Regions from separate parts of the Homo sapiens genome. Here regions 2 and 3 are each linked to region 1. Evidence: promoter capture Hi-C in 16 types of primary human blood cells and fetal thymus (Javierre and others, 2016). All regions are on one chromosome and are shown on one strand. The core of a region is centred on a gene start or on the middle of the fragment in contact, and the rest is flanking DNA. Distances in the headings are between cores, read along the strand shown.

Region 1 (4,937 bases), core at 1,202-3,701:
GAGAAATGGGATCTCATGTAAAGGAAACCTGGGGTCCAGTCCAGTCCTACTGAATGCTATTTAGTCTGAGTAAAGAAATGTCTGAGGGTCAAAGCCATTTGGGAGGTCTCCCTGGGGATAGAGAGGTTGTCCTAAATAGGTCCATCAGAAAAGCCAGGAATCTCTCAGGCCCACAAGGCAATAAAGGCCATGAAGGCAAAACCAGCGGCTACACAGCTCCACTTAGCTAGAGGGGCCTCAGGACTAGCTAGCTCCCGTGGAAGAATTTCTAGGAAGGTGACATACAGGAAGGTACCAGCTGCCACACCCTCTAACACAGCCTGGGCTAAGCCCCGCCCTCCTTCAGAGTCCCCTCCAGTCACAGCCAGCCCTACGGCTAGGCCCAGGGGGGACATGAGAGCTAATAATAGTATGGAGAACACTGCCCATCGTGAGCTGGTACCTAAATGCACTAGCCGCATTCCTACACCAAACACCACAAGCCCCTTATGAGCCAGGACAGCAAGGCAGAGCTGCACGGTAGCTGCTACTGTCGGCTGCAGCCCCACAGCTAGCCCTTCAAACACTGAGTGAAAGGAGAGTGACAGCAAGAGGACAAGGGCTCGGAGGGGACCCTTTGAGGGTGAGGGTAAATGTCCATGGCTGTGGAGTTCGAAGATATGAGCCCCACCCCATTCTTCGTCCTGCACTGTCGATCCTCCAGCAGCCCCAGGACAGCACTGCAATGCCAGCGACTCCAAAAAGAAGACAAAAAAGAAGCCCAGGGAGATGATGAGCTCTCCATAGGGATACTCCATCTAGAAACAAAAAGAAGGGCTGTGAGATGGAAAGGAAGGGTAGGCAATACATTGGATGGACATGGAATTGGGAGATTGAAGAGAATGAGAAAATGTGGTAACAGAACACAAAAAAGGGTAGGGGAAATGAAGCCAAGAGTAGACATGGCCATGCAACAACAAGAATGCCAGAGTGGGCCGGACACAGTGGCTCATGCCTGTAATCCTAGCACTTTGGGAGACTGAAGTGGGCAGATCACTTGAGGTCAGGAGATTGAGACCAGCCTGGCCAACATGATGAAACCCCGTCTCTACTAAAAATACAAAAACTAGCCAGGTGTGGTGGCACGTGCCTGTAATCCCAGCTACTCAGGAGGCTGAGGCAGGAAAATCACTAGAACTCGGAAGGCAGAGGTTGCAGTGAGCCGAGATTGTGCCACTGTACTCCAGTCTGGGCGACAGAGAGATTTCATCTCAACAAACAAACGAAAAACAACAACAACAAAAGACTGCCAGAGGGGCTAAGGGACAGAATCTCAATAGAGTTAAAAACATGGGCAAATGATGTGAGGTATATCAGAGGATCCAGGGAAAGAATGAAAGAGTAAAACAAGGGCTTTCCCTGGCATTCTATAAACTCAAAAGGATTGGATTTGCTCCTCTTTTCCTCTACGATGTCTGAGCTAGGGAGCAGAAGGGATTCTTGGTACTCCTCATGTATTCCTCTCAAAAGGGTCTGGATATGAAAGGCCTCTCTGGTTCTCCTCACTCTCCAGATAGGGGATGGTGGGAGGTACTTACATGAGCTGAATCAGCATCACCAGAAGAATTTCTCTCACTTGCTGATCTGTTCTAAGAAGAAAGCAGCAGAAATTAGATGTGGGATGGAGCAGCACAGCTTCCTGTGCTGTCCCTTCAGCAATTCTGTTTTCCTTAAAGCCTAATCTGACTTGCTTTCACCATCCCACACAAGAGCTGTCATTTTCCTTGTCGTTCCACCCATGTCCTTGGCTCCATCACTTTCCCGCTCTCTTCCCTTTGTCCTGTTTATCATTTTGGCCTCATAGACCTGCGGCTTGAAATCTCTGCTCTCACCTGCACCATGAACTTCTGAATCTGTGATTCAATTTCCTCCAGGGCTTCAGCAGTCATATGCATGAACCCTGCTCCCAGGAAAACACCAGCAGAAATACAGCCCAGGAGTCTGAGGACTAGCCGGTGATGACCTAATAAAAAGCAGAAGTTACAACCCACTTGACACTGAGGAGACAGACAAAGGTGAGTAAAGAGCAGCAGGCAGCACTCAATATCCCAAGGTTGGGGATGGTGAGAGAATCAGAGCAAGGTATCAGGACAGGGTTGAGGTGAGACTCAGGCTATGGAACAAAGATGGGGTAGGGCTATACCTCTGGCTGCATCAATCTGGAACCATTTGAAGCAGATGGGAGTAAGGCCACAGCCCAGAGTGAGAGCCAACAGGGCAAACAGGCAGCCAAGTTTTATTCCTAGTAGTTGCTCCATCTCTGGGGTGTAGGGTAAGCCCAGGAGTCAGAATGACAAGGGAGCTGTAATCTTTGGAGCAGGAGTGGTATCTTAGGTGGTCAACACTGGAGTGTCCACTCTCGTGAGTTTCAGGAGGCTGTTGGTATCTTCTTTCTGTGTTGCTTCTGCTTCTGCAGCATTGCAGAGCTGACAGATCCTGCCCCAGCTTCTAGCCCTCCCCCTGCATGGAGGCCCCTCCCCTGGTTCACGCCTTCCTGAGCTTGGAAACCAGAAACTCCAGACTCCCTGCCAGGCACAGCCCAGTGGCGTCTTCTCCTCCTCTTCAATGGCATGACTAATCCAAGAGCTACGGATAGTCTTAGTTCATGTGCTTGGGGTTGGTCTAATCCAAAATAGGAAAGTCTATGGTAGCTGCTTCCCAGCTATTTTGTACTGGGGACAATCTGGTCCTGTCTCACTCAGGACGTTTGATCTAAGCCTTCCATACCCTCTCCACCTCATCCCAAGTCTTATAGGTTGCAATGCTGATACTTGAACCACCCGCTTTCAGAGATTTGGGGCCACCTGGAGGTAAAGAGGTGGGGCTGAGAGGTGGTGCTGGTGCTACTCTGTGGGAACTAGTACCCACATGAGGGAACTACCCTTTCCTGTAACCCCAGAAAAATAGCTCCAGGCATGGAAATGTCTAGTGGTAAGTTGATTTGTTTTTTTTCTTTCTCTTTTGATTGGGATCAGTTTTGAGAGGAATGAGTTGAGATGTCTGGTATTACAACATTTATACTGTTACAACTTCTAACTGTGCCTGTTTCCTGGTAAGAACTGTGGAAAAAAAGACATTTAAGGTTTAAGACAAAGGAAGCTGCTCTAGCCCTGAAACAGCAAGGCTTAGGGGAAAACAGAAATGAACTGAGTGAATGGGAGGATTCTACCTGGATATAGAGAGGTGGGGGTAGAAGATTCAGTTCTGATGGGAATCACTCTTGATGGAAATGTCTGGGGCATTTCCCATACATACTCTAGGGTAGCTGAGGGACCCTGGGAAAGACAGAAGGGAAGGCGTTAGTACAAGAGGCCAGGCAGCTGCTGATTCCCCTATTCAGGTGGCCCACATAACAACCCTGAGACCTGTTGAGCCAGTTCTCAGAGCTCTGGAGGCAGCTTTCCTTGCTACTCCAGATTATTTTCCTAGGGAAGTCCTGGCCTCTGGTAGAAGCAGTATTCTTACAGTGTTACTGGATGATTCTTACAGTGTTACTGGTCCTGCTGCTTGTTCTTGTGGTCCGGTAATGAGATGCAGACAGACAGACTGGGAAAGACGGGAGTTTATTTCTGCAACTGATTACAGGGAGGTCGGAGTAGCACACCAGACCAACTCAAAGTTACAAGCTTTTCTTTAGCTTTTATATACAATTCAAGCTCTATGACTACCTGCGGGAATGTTTCCTAATTAATCTAAACTAGGGGTCTGCAGGTAGAAGTTTTTTTTTTGTTTTTTAGAAACAAAGCAATAAACGATTTGATTTAGAAATAAAACCATTCCCATTATTGCAGCATTATCATCAGTCACTGATTGCTAATGCTGTTTACGCTTCTTTTTCCCTGGGATGTCTGAACCTGGCAACTTTTCTTCCTGTTCTTCTATTTTCTTAGCAAACCCACATCAAGGGTGTCTGTTCGCGTTTGAAATTCATCGGCACCAGAAAGAGCTAACATGTTGGCAGTATCTAGAAAACCATCAACATGAGCATGGGACAGTTCGCTTTGCAGCTGATCCCACCATAGTGAGTGAGTACTTGCAGACAGAAGTTTCTTAATCTTAAGTTGGTCCTGGGATGGGTTGTATGTGCAGGAATGCTTTTATCACTCAGCTAGATCTGAGGTAGAGAAAGTATAGGTGGGGCTTTAAAGGGCTTGCTTTTTTTGTATTCTGGCTTTCGTACTCAGGCACCAGTTTCCCCCGATTCCTTATCCATTTTTCTTGCTTCTGCTTTAATGTTTAACTTGTACATTCATCATTATAGCAAAGGGCTTATGGAAATCTGGTTTTTCTACTTCTGCTTTAATGATCAGCTTACACATTCATCATTACAGCGAAGAGCTTATGGAGCTCTGAACTGCCACAATAGGAGAGGGCGAGCTTGAGATTTGTGTGGGAAGCCTGGCACCAAAAATCTGAGGAAGCTCTTCATTACAGGATAGGCCAGGATAATTAACTATACCTTTTACATGTTTTTTTTTTTTTTTTTTTTTTAAGGGAGGACGTCTTGCTCTGTTACCTATGCTGAAGTGCAGTGTTACAATCAAAGTTCACTGTAGCCTTAACACCTGGGCTCAAGTGATCCTCTTGCCTCAGCTTCCTGAGTGGCTGGAAATGCAGACACATGCCACCGTGCCCAGCTTCTACACTTTTTAAGAATCACAAAATCCACTTCCATTCTTCAAAAATTTATTATTTATTATTAAAAATCTCAAACAAACACAGACATATGGGGATACCAGCATTCCCCTCCTGGATACCAGGCAGCTTCAGCCCTGGCAGGCACGATAGAAGAAAATACTTGTTACACATCCTCATCAACTCTCAGAGGGATCCTGAGCCGTAGATGGAGGAAACGCAGACGGAGTAAGCACAGGTAAAAGATCTCCCCAGGAGCTGAC
Region 2 (4,937 bases), core at 1,707-4,206, 640 kb after region 1:
TTGGGAGACTGAGGTGGGCCTTGAGGTCAGGAGTTCAAGACCAGCCTGCCAACATGGTGAAACCCCATCTCTACTAAAAATACAAAAATTAGCTGGGTGTGGCGGTGCACACCTGTAATCCCAGCTACTTGGGAGGCTGAGGCCGGAAAATCACTTGAACCCGGGAGGCAGAGGTTGCATTAAGGGAAGATTGTGCCACTGCACTCCAGCCTGGGCAACAGAACAAGACTCTGTCTCAGATAAATAAATAAATAAATAAATAAAGGTGGCCTTGAATGTTTTTCAATAGTTTTGTAGTTATCAGTGTACAAGTTTCATGCTTCTTTGGTTAAATCTATTCCTAGTGTTTTATTCTTTCTGACGCTATTATAAATGGAATTGTTTTCTTAATTTTTCAGATTATTCTTTACTAGTGTGTAGAAATAGAAATACAATTCATAGGCCAGGCGTGGTGGCTCACACCTGTAATGCCAGCACTTTGGGAGGCCAAGGTGGGTGGATCACCTAAGGTCAGGAGTTCAAGACCAGCCTGGGCCCAACATGGTGAAACCCTGTCTCTACTAATAATACAAAAATTAGCCAGGCATGGTGGCACATGCCTGTAATCCCAGCTAGTTGGGAAGCCGAGGCGGGAGGCTGAAGCAGGAGAATCACTTGAACCCGGAGGCAGAGGTTGCAGTGAGCTGAGATCTCACCATTGCACTCCAGCCTGGGCAACAAGAGTAAAATGCCATCTCCAGAAAAATAAATAAAATAAAAAGAAATACAGGCTGGGTGTAGTGGCTCATGCCTGTAATCCCAGCACTTTGGGAGGCTGAGGTGGGAGGATCACAAGGTAAGGAGTTCGAGACCAGCCTGGCTAATATGGTGAAACCCTGTCTTTACTAAGAATACAAAAATTAGGCAGGCGTGGTGGTGGGCACCTGTAGCCCCAGCTCCTCGGGAGGCTGAGGCAGGAGAATCACTTGAGCCCGGGAGGTGGAGGTTGCAGTGAACCAAGATTGCGCCACTGCACTCCAGTCTGGGCAACAGAGCAAGACACTCCGTCTCAAAAAAAAAAAGAAAAAGAAAAAAAAAGAAATACAATTCATCTTGTATCCTACAATCTTGCTGAACTTTTTAGCTCTAAATATGGATTCTTTTGGGCCTTCTCTATAGATCACGTAATTTGCAAATTTAGTTTTATCTCCTTTTTAATCTTGATGCCTTTTTTTTCTTGCTTAAGTACCATGGTTAGAACCTCCAGTACAATATTGAATGGAAGTGGTGAGTGCAAACATCTTGGTCTTATTCCTGATCTTAGAGGATAAGCTTTCAATCTTTCACCATTGTAATGTTAGCTGTGAGTTTTTCATAGATGTTCTTCATAGGGTGGAGGAAGCTCCCTTTCATTCCTACTTTGTTGGATTTTATTTCATTATGAAAAAATGTTACATTTTGCCAAATGCTTTTTCTGCATCTGAGATGATCATGTGATTTTTGCCCTACCTTGGTTTTCAATCTTGCATTACTGTGATAAATCTCACTTGATCATTGTATATAGTCCATTTATAATGTTGCTGGATTAGGCTTGGTAGTATTTTGTTGATTTTTGCAATTATATTGTTAAGGGATATTGGTCTATAATTTTATTTTCTTGTGATATCTTCATCTGGTTTTGGTTTCATTCTGCTTTGTAGAATTAGTTGCAAAGTATTTTCCTCTCTTCTATTCTTTGGAAAAGTATGCAGTCTACTTCAGTTTTAATAGCAGGTTACTTCAGTGAGTAGATATATTTGACTAGTTCCTTATCTATGATCTTTTTGTGTACACCAATGCCTCAGTGACATCTATGCAAACATATATATCTGTAAGTTTTAGGTCAACAGGGCATGAACATTTCAAATTTTGATAGATATTGGAAACCTGGTTTCTAAAAAGTTACAGGAAAAATTTAAACAAACTTCTCTGTTACTTAAGGAAGTGTGTTGTTTATCTGTGTTGTGTGTTTAAATACAATCAGGAAGTCTTTGGATCTGTATTAGTCTGTTTTCATACTGCTATAAGGAACTGCCCGAGACTGGGTAATTTATAAAGGAAAGAGGTTTGACTCACAGTTCACCATGGCTGAGGAGGCCTCAGGAAATTTACAATCATAGAGGAAGGTGAAGGGGAAGCCCTTCTTCACAGGGTGGCAGGAAGGAGAAGTGCCAAGCGAAGTAGGAAGAGCCCCTTATAAAACCATCAGATCTCGTGAGAACTCACTCACTATCACAAGAACAGCATGGGGGAAACTGCCCCCATGATTCAGTTACCTCCACCTGGTCTCTCCCTTAAAATGTGGGGATTCTGGGGATTACAGTTCAAGATGAGATTTGGATGGGGACACAAAGCCTAACCATATCAGGATCTGACCTGGACTTTAGTACTTCTTAGTTGGAGCAGGTTATGTAAAAACTCATTCCACTTTTTTCCTTTCCTCCTCAAGATGTATTCAGGCTTAGTGACAGTCCTCCAAGGGCTTCCCAAATTTTTGGACATGTGATGAGTCCTAGGATGTTGAGTAGTGGGAGACCTAGGCTGCAGTGGATAAATTTGAAAAAGGCAAGTGAATACATATGCATGGGAAAGAAAAACACGACTTAGCCTTTGTTGCCTCTACCCTTCCTGTGATAATACTCAACAAATTCCAGTTTGCAGAAAAATTGAATTAAACAGGTAAAAGCATTAGCGCCCCCATTAGTGTCCCTCAATGCACAGATGCCACTAAGAACAGGATACTGAATAACCCTCAGAGCAATGAGTAATTTCTGTCCTGGAAATGGAGATCTACTAATGTCAGAAGAAATATGTTCTTGGAGAAATAAAGCCCGAAGAAGCCAGTGGTAGACCTGTACAGTTTTTATTACATAAAATATCACAAAATTCACAAGTACAACACTGCTTATTTTCTTGCTTGAAGATCAGATCTCTGGTTTATTTAATATCAACATTCACCACAGCTGAAGGAAATTAAACTGAACCTTTAAAAGGTACCGCATACGGACCTGGTTGGGGTTATATACAATATATTCATTGTAGTTGAGGGTATAACCATCTGGATTCAGAATTCCTGTGTCACTTGCTGGTCCTAATGGCACTGTACTCCCATTCCTGCCAAATGGAAAAAAAGTGTGTCAACATCAGTCTCTGGTTCAGAAGCTGCAATAGAGAACGTAGTCTTATCTGGCCAAAAGGAGTCTTCTAGTCCTCCTGGTTCTGAGTACTTACAGGGTGACGAAGTGGGCAGAACTGGGAGCCATCTTGCCCAGCCCCTTGGTGCTATGTTTACCTTGAAGCAATCCTTCGGCCTTAGGATTGGCCTCTAGTAGTTCATTACACTGACCTAGAGCTACCTGCAAAGCAAAAAACCTTTGAATTCCCATATCCTACTAAGAATTAGATGGCTCCAAAGCCAAACAGAAAATCCCATCAGTACTTTTTTCCCCTACTCCAGCAGAGGAATCCAATGTACTAGAAATTGTACTTGGTCCTCTCTCAAGCTATCCCAGGTAAACCTCTTGGTTCTGGGGTCAAACTTTTCTCATCGGAAAAAAACTGGAATTAATAAACTAGAGATCACAGACATACTCCTGTCTCACCTCTGATAAGAGCAGCAGTCCTGTATTCTTTAGGCGAGAGGCAAAGCAGTAATTGGCACTCTTGGAAGACATGTCAGCAAAGTAGATTCCTTTCCCAAACTGAAATATATACATGAATACCAAGGTCAGCTTCTAACCCACTGTGTTAGAGAGAAGGTGCATACCACTGACCCTGTTTTTCCATTCCCTTAAACACAATATAGACCCTTCTCCATTTCCCCTCACAATTCTGTTCTAGAGAGGGTAGAAGCCCCTGTGAATTTCCGCCTTCTGAGGGAAAGGTGAGGTATCTTTAGGAATTTAAAGAAAGAGGGACACAGTAAGAGATGACAAGGTTATCAGTGAGCTGGCTTAACTCTTGGGGAGGGGAACCATCTAATCCTAATCTAGGAAAAAAAGCACTGAGAACATTACTGTATCCCTTTCCCCTGTGCTCCTCCCAGAGTTCAATTTCACTCACCATGTAACCTGTGATGGGAGCTTCAGGTGGGGCAATTCGAAGCCCATGGCTCAAGATTCCCACCCAGTTACTCATCCTGGAACCATGCCATAGAAGCATCCTAAGGAAAAGCCAATATTATTGTACTCTGTTGTTCTGCACAGATAGGCCATAAGCATAAAAAAGCCAACACCTTCCTCTGACTCCCTCTTATAAGTTCTACAGCTGTACTTTCGGGCAAGGAGTGTCTTTCCAAACGCAAAGCTAGACTCAGACCTGTTATGAAGGTCCTCTCTGAAGGCTTCTTTCTCACCATCCTTCTCCACTTCAAACAAATCCAGCAAGGTCATGGTATAGTCGCTGTGTGTGGGAGCATGGGTAGATTGTAGGTACTGGGAAATCACCTGTGAAAAATAAGACAAAAAGGCTGATGTAGACTCTACAAGAGACTGAGCTGAACTGAAGAATTTGGGGATTCTGATATAACTTGGCAGACCTTTCTGCTCCCAAACAGTCTTACAAGGCAGCTAGGAAAAGCTTGGCCTTCCCAAATCCCTAGTACATAAAAAGTCTGCCCTAATTGACAATTTGCTCTTGACAAGAAGTAGTTAGAGAACAGTGGGATGGGGGAGGTGGTTAAGGGTGCAAGAATATGAAAATAAATGATCATTTTTCTTACTTTGAACTCATAACTTTCATGGTCAAGGGGGCGCAAGGCACAATGTAGGTTTCTATAGTGTTGGTCCAATGGGTGTTCTGGGCTTTGTAGCTCTGTTTTCACCAGCTTAATAGCAATTTCAATGTCTCCCAAAGCCTGAGAAGATGAGATATAGAATCAATGTGGGAGGACACTGGTATAAGGGATATAATACTTCTCA
Region 3 (3,674 bases), core at 742-3,241, 530 kb after region 1:
GACCTCGGCTCAAAAAATAAATAAAATTAGCCAGGTGTGGTAGTGTACGCCTGTGGTCCCCGTTACTCAGGAGGCTGAGGTGGGAGGATTGTTTGAGCCCAGGCAGTCAGAACTGTAGTGAGCTAGAGATGGTGCCACTGCACTCCAACCTTGGCAACAGAGCAAGGCCCCACCTAAAACAAATCCAAAGAAGCAGCTAAATTATCTTCTGTATTGCCTAAAATAAATACACATTTCTTAAAATTACCAATACAATCCTTCATTTCTATATTTGTGGCAATTTTGAACTCAATCCTAATGATAGAGTTCCATCTTCCAGCTAGAGGTACAGAAGGTGGCTATAGTGAATTTTTTAGAATTCTTAGAAACAGTCATCACATTGGCCAGGCACAGTGCGTCGCGCCTGTAATGCCAGCACTTTAGGAGGCCAAGATGGGCGGATTACCTGAGGTCGCGAGTTCAAGGACCAGCCTGGCCAACATGGTGAAACCTTGTCTCTACTAAAAATACAAAAATTAACCGGGCGTGGTGGCACACGTCTGTAATCCCAGCTACTCGGAAGGCTGAGGCATGAGAATTGCTTGAACCCGGGAGGCGGAGGTTGCAGTGAGCCGAGATCATGCCACTGCACTCCAGCCTGGGCAACACAGCGACATTCCGTCTCAAAAAACAGTCATCAAATCATGGATAGATCATTCATTAGCACTGCAGCTGTTAACCCCTTGGTGCTTCGTAGGGAGATTTGATGCTACACCAAATCTCACCAGTTTGTATTTCAATAAGTCAGTTTAATTCACCCTTCCCTGAAATCAGATCCTCTCAGTCCAATGAGGCCTGTTATTTCCTACTCCTTCCCCTTCCCATTTTGCTAAACCCCTCCCTCTTCAAGCTTCCAGCCAAATTCCCCTTCTCACCAACAGCGTCTGCTCCCAGCTTCTGCAGCACACGACATTCTGCCACAGTCTCAAAGCTGGGGCCTGCCACCATCACATAGGTGCCTTCCTGTAGCTCACGTTGCTCCCCCATTTGTTTCCAGGTACTGAGAGCCCTCTGCCTCATAGTCCGGTCGTAGGCATCAGACATGGCAGGGAAACGATCTCCAAACCTAGGACACAGGTTGAATTATCTCACATAAACGGAATTTTAAAAATTCTCCCACAGCTCCTAGAGAAGTCTTTAAATCCTACCCACCTAAAAAAAACGGAGTAACATACATACCTTTCATCATTGGGCCCTCTGAGAGGGTTCTGACCACTGAAACCAGGTAGGTTGATATGGTCACGGATCAGCATGATATCTCCAACCTCAAACTTGGGGTTCAGCCCTCCTGCTGCATTGGTGACTACCAGGGTGTCCACACCCAGAAGGTGGAAAACCCTCACTGGGAATGTCACCTTCGAAGCAAACAATCCGAAAAAAATTTACAAAATTTCATTAATTCAGCTACACTGAAATGCATGACATACATCGTGAAAGAAAAGGAAGGAGAGGACCAAAAATCCACCTAGCCCAGATAGCTAGGTAGTGAAAGAGGCTAGATAGTTCTCTCCTGCCTCTTCCAGATCCAACCGGACCTATCCCTCTGACTTACCTTCCAGAGTGGGTACCCTTCATACATGTGGAACCTGCCCTGCATCATCACACAGGCCCTGCCATTCAGGAACCCAAACACCAGTCGGCCAGCATGACCTGGCACTGTATACAAAACAGAAAGAGAAATGAATGGGATTATATTTTCATGCAACACATATCCATTAAGCACCTACTGTGAGTTACTCGCTCTGCTCAAAATGTTAGGTTGTAATTAAGTAAAAGACTCATTATTATCTCTGCTTTCAGAAAGTTTAAGTCTGGTGAGAGAGCCAGGCATTACTAATAATTATACAAATACAACCCAAGATTAGAGATATGGGGTGCGTTCAGCATGTTCAGCATGAACACACAAAGAAGGAAGGGCTTTTTAAAGAAATTTCAAGATAATACAAGCCATACTGCCAGAGAGTAAAAAGTGAGCAAAAAAAGTAGATACTCAGAAATGGAAGATTAAATACTACATGTTCTCACTTATAAGTGGGAACCAAATGTGTACATATGGACCTACAGAGTGAAATAATAGACACTGGGGACTCGGAAAGGTGAGAAAGTGGGATGGGGATGAGGGATGAGAAATTACCTAATAAGTACAATGTTCACTGCTCAGGTGATGGTTACACTAAAGCACAGACGTCACCACCACGCAGTATATCCATATAACAAAACTGCATTGTACCCCTGTAAATCTATAAAAATTAAAATTAAAAATAGGCCAGGTGCGGTGTCTCACACCTGTAGTCCCAGCACTTCGGGAGCCCAAGACAGGCGGATCAACAGGCCAGGAGTTCAAGACCACCCTGGCCAACATGGTGAAACCTCATCTCTACTAAAAATACAAAAATTAGCCAGGTGTGGTGGCACATGCCTGTAATCCCAGCTACTCGGGAGGCTGAGGTGGGAGAATCTCTTGAACTTGGGAGGTGGAGGTTGCAGTGAGCCGAGATCACAACACTACACTCGAGCCTGGGTGACAGAGCGAGACTCTGTTTCAAAATAAAGTGAGTACAGTGAATGCAGTAATTATAGACCTCTTCAAATTTTTCAAAGTTCTCAAAACATGTATTCTTATCTATTGCCCTAACTTAATTACCTGCCTCCTCAGTCCAGCAAGCAAGCTCATAGTATACTTACTCTGGCTTCTTAAAGAAGAGGCTACTGAACAAGGGGGAAAGAATTTGAACGCATGCAAGTGTCTCTTTCCTTATGACCCACGGAACAGTCCTATGGGAACACATGCCCACGGAGGGGTGCGTGGGAGTGCAAAGATAACTCCCCACAGACATAACAGCCATTATTACCATTTCTTTTATCTGGCAGTCACTTCTAATAGACGGCCAACCTATCCCTTAGGGAATGGGAGAGGGACTAGAACCAAGAGGAAGAGCTGAGAAATTCTCAAAGATAGAGGAGCTTATGCAAAAAAACAAAACAAAAACAGTAATAAAGTTGACAAAGGAAACCCAAGTGGAGTATAAAAAATAAACATGTTGATAAGCTTAAAAAAACTAACCCACTTATCATTTAATGCAGTGCCCTTCTCACTGGGGGTAGGAGTGGCCAGTGGAGCCAGCGTCACTACTATCTCCCTTAGAGAAGTATGCCCTTCACACACCCTCTGTTAATATTTCCCTCACCTTCTCCCTCTGCTCTTCCAGTCTTGTGTTAAAGAGTTTAAAAAAATAGCTATTAAAGGTCTTTTCCTGCTGACAGGTCTTAAAAAAAAATTCTTAACTCTCCAGGGAAAAGAAGATAGAAATCTTAAAAATTAATAAATAAACCAACAGAAGTTAGTTATTTGAGAAATTACGTAAACCAAATAAACAACCCTTGCCCTTTACTTGGCCCCTGTCACCTGGCCCTCTTCTGAGTCTTAGCCTCAGTCCACTGACACACACATGTCCTGTCTCTTATGGGATGTCTGCTAGAGGCATCTCCTAAAGTCACTCTGACTCATGGTGGGCTTTTCTCCTCTCTTACAACATTTGTCTTCAGTGAAATGCTAGGTCAAGGAGTAGAAACATTGGCCTCCTTGGTTGTGTTCCACAGAATTCCAAGAACATCCCTCAGTCCCATTCCCCACT

Evidence for each region. The method cuts DNA at HindIII sites, captures the fragments that hold promoters and counts their contacts. A CHiCAGO score of 5 or more calls a contact.
Region 2: a contact is called between a fragment that was not itself captured here and the fragment with the promoter of SLC39A2 in region 1, in 1 of 17 cell types (monocytes). The highest score is 5.9, in monocytes.
Region 3: a contact is called between a fragment that was not itself captured here and the fragment with the promoter of SLC39A2 in region 1, in 1 of 17 cell types (monocytes). The highest score is 5.1, in monocytes.

Annotation. Positions count from the first base shown.
Region 1 is chr14:20,996,807-21,001,743 of GRCh38, reverse strand. SLC39A2 (solute carrier family 39 member 2) reads right to left here and starts at 2,451. Exons shown (of 4, transcript NM_014579.4): 1 at 2,183-2,451; 2 at 1,872-2,002; 3 at 1,578-1,628; 4 at 1-797. The coding sequence starts at 2,297. The coding sequence ends at 165. It overlaps LOC101929718 (a long non-coding RNA gene), which reads left to right and starts at 2,581. Exons shown (of 4, transcript NR_110139.1): 1 at 2,581-2,970; 2 at 3,930-4,064; 3 at 4,534-4,912. It overlaps METTL17 (methyltransferase like 17), which reads right to left. Exons shown (of 14, transcript NM_022734.3): 14 at 4,709-4,937. The coding sequence ends at 4,854. RefSeq lists enhancers at 1,193-2,392, 4,416-4,937. The HindIII fragment of the contact is 5,548 bases long and covers 1-3,667 here.
Region 2 is chr14:20,355,833-20,360,769 of GRCh38, reverse strand. It overlaps PARP2 (poly(ADP-ribose) polymerase 2), which reads right to left. Exons shown (of 16, transcript NM_001042618.2): 11 at 4,739-4,873; 12 at 4,336-4,463; 13 at 4,081-4,180; 14 at 3,621-3,719; 15 at 3,250-3,374; 16 at 2,866-3,132. The coding sequence ends at 2,973. Among named protein-coding and RNA genes, the nearest start is that of PARP2, 15 kb to the right of the region's middle. The HindIII fragment of the contact is 3,285 bases long and covers 1,314-4,598 here.
Region 3 is chr14:20,472,493-20,476,166 of GRCh38, reverse strand. PNP (purine nucleoside phosphorylase) reads right to left here. Exons shown (of 6, transcript NM_000270.4): 3 at 1,592-1,695; 4 at 1,219-1,394; 5 at 915-1,105. Among named protein-coding and RNA genes, the nearest start is that of PNP, 4.9 kb to the right of the region's middle. The HindIII fragment of the contact is 2,199 bases long and covers 892-3,090 here.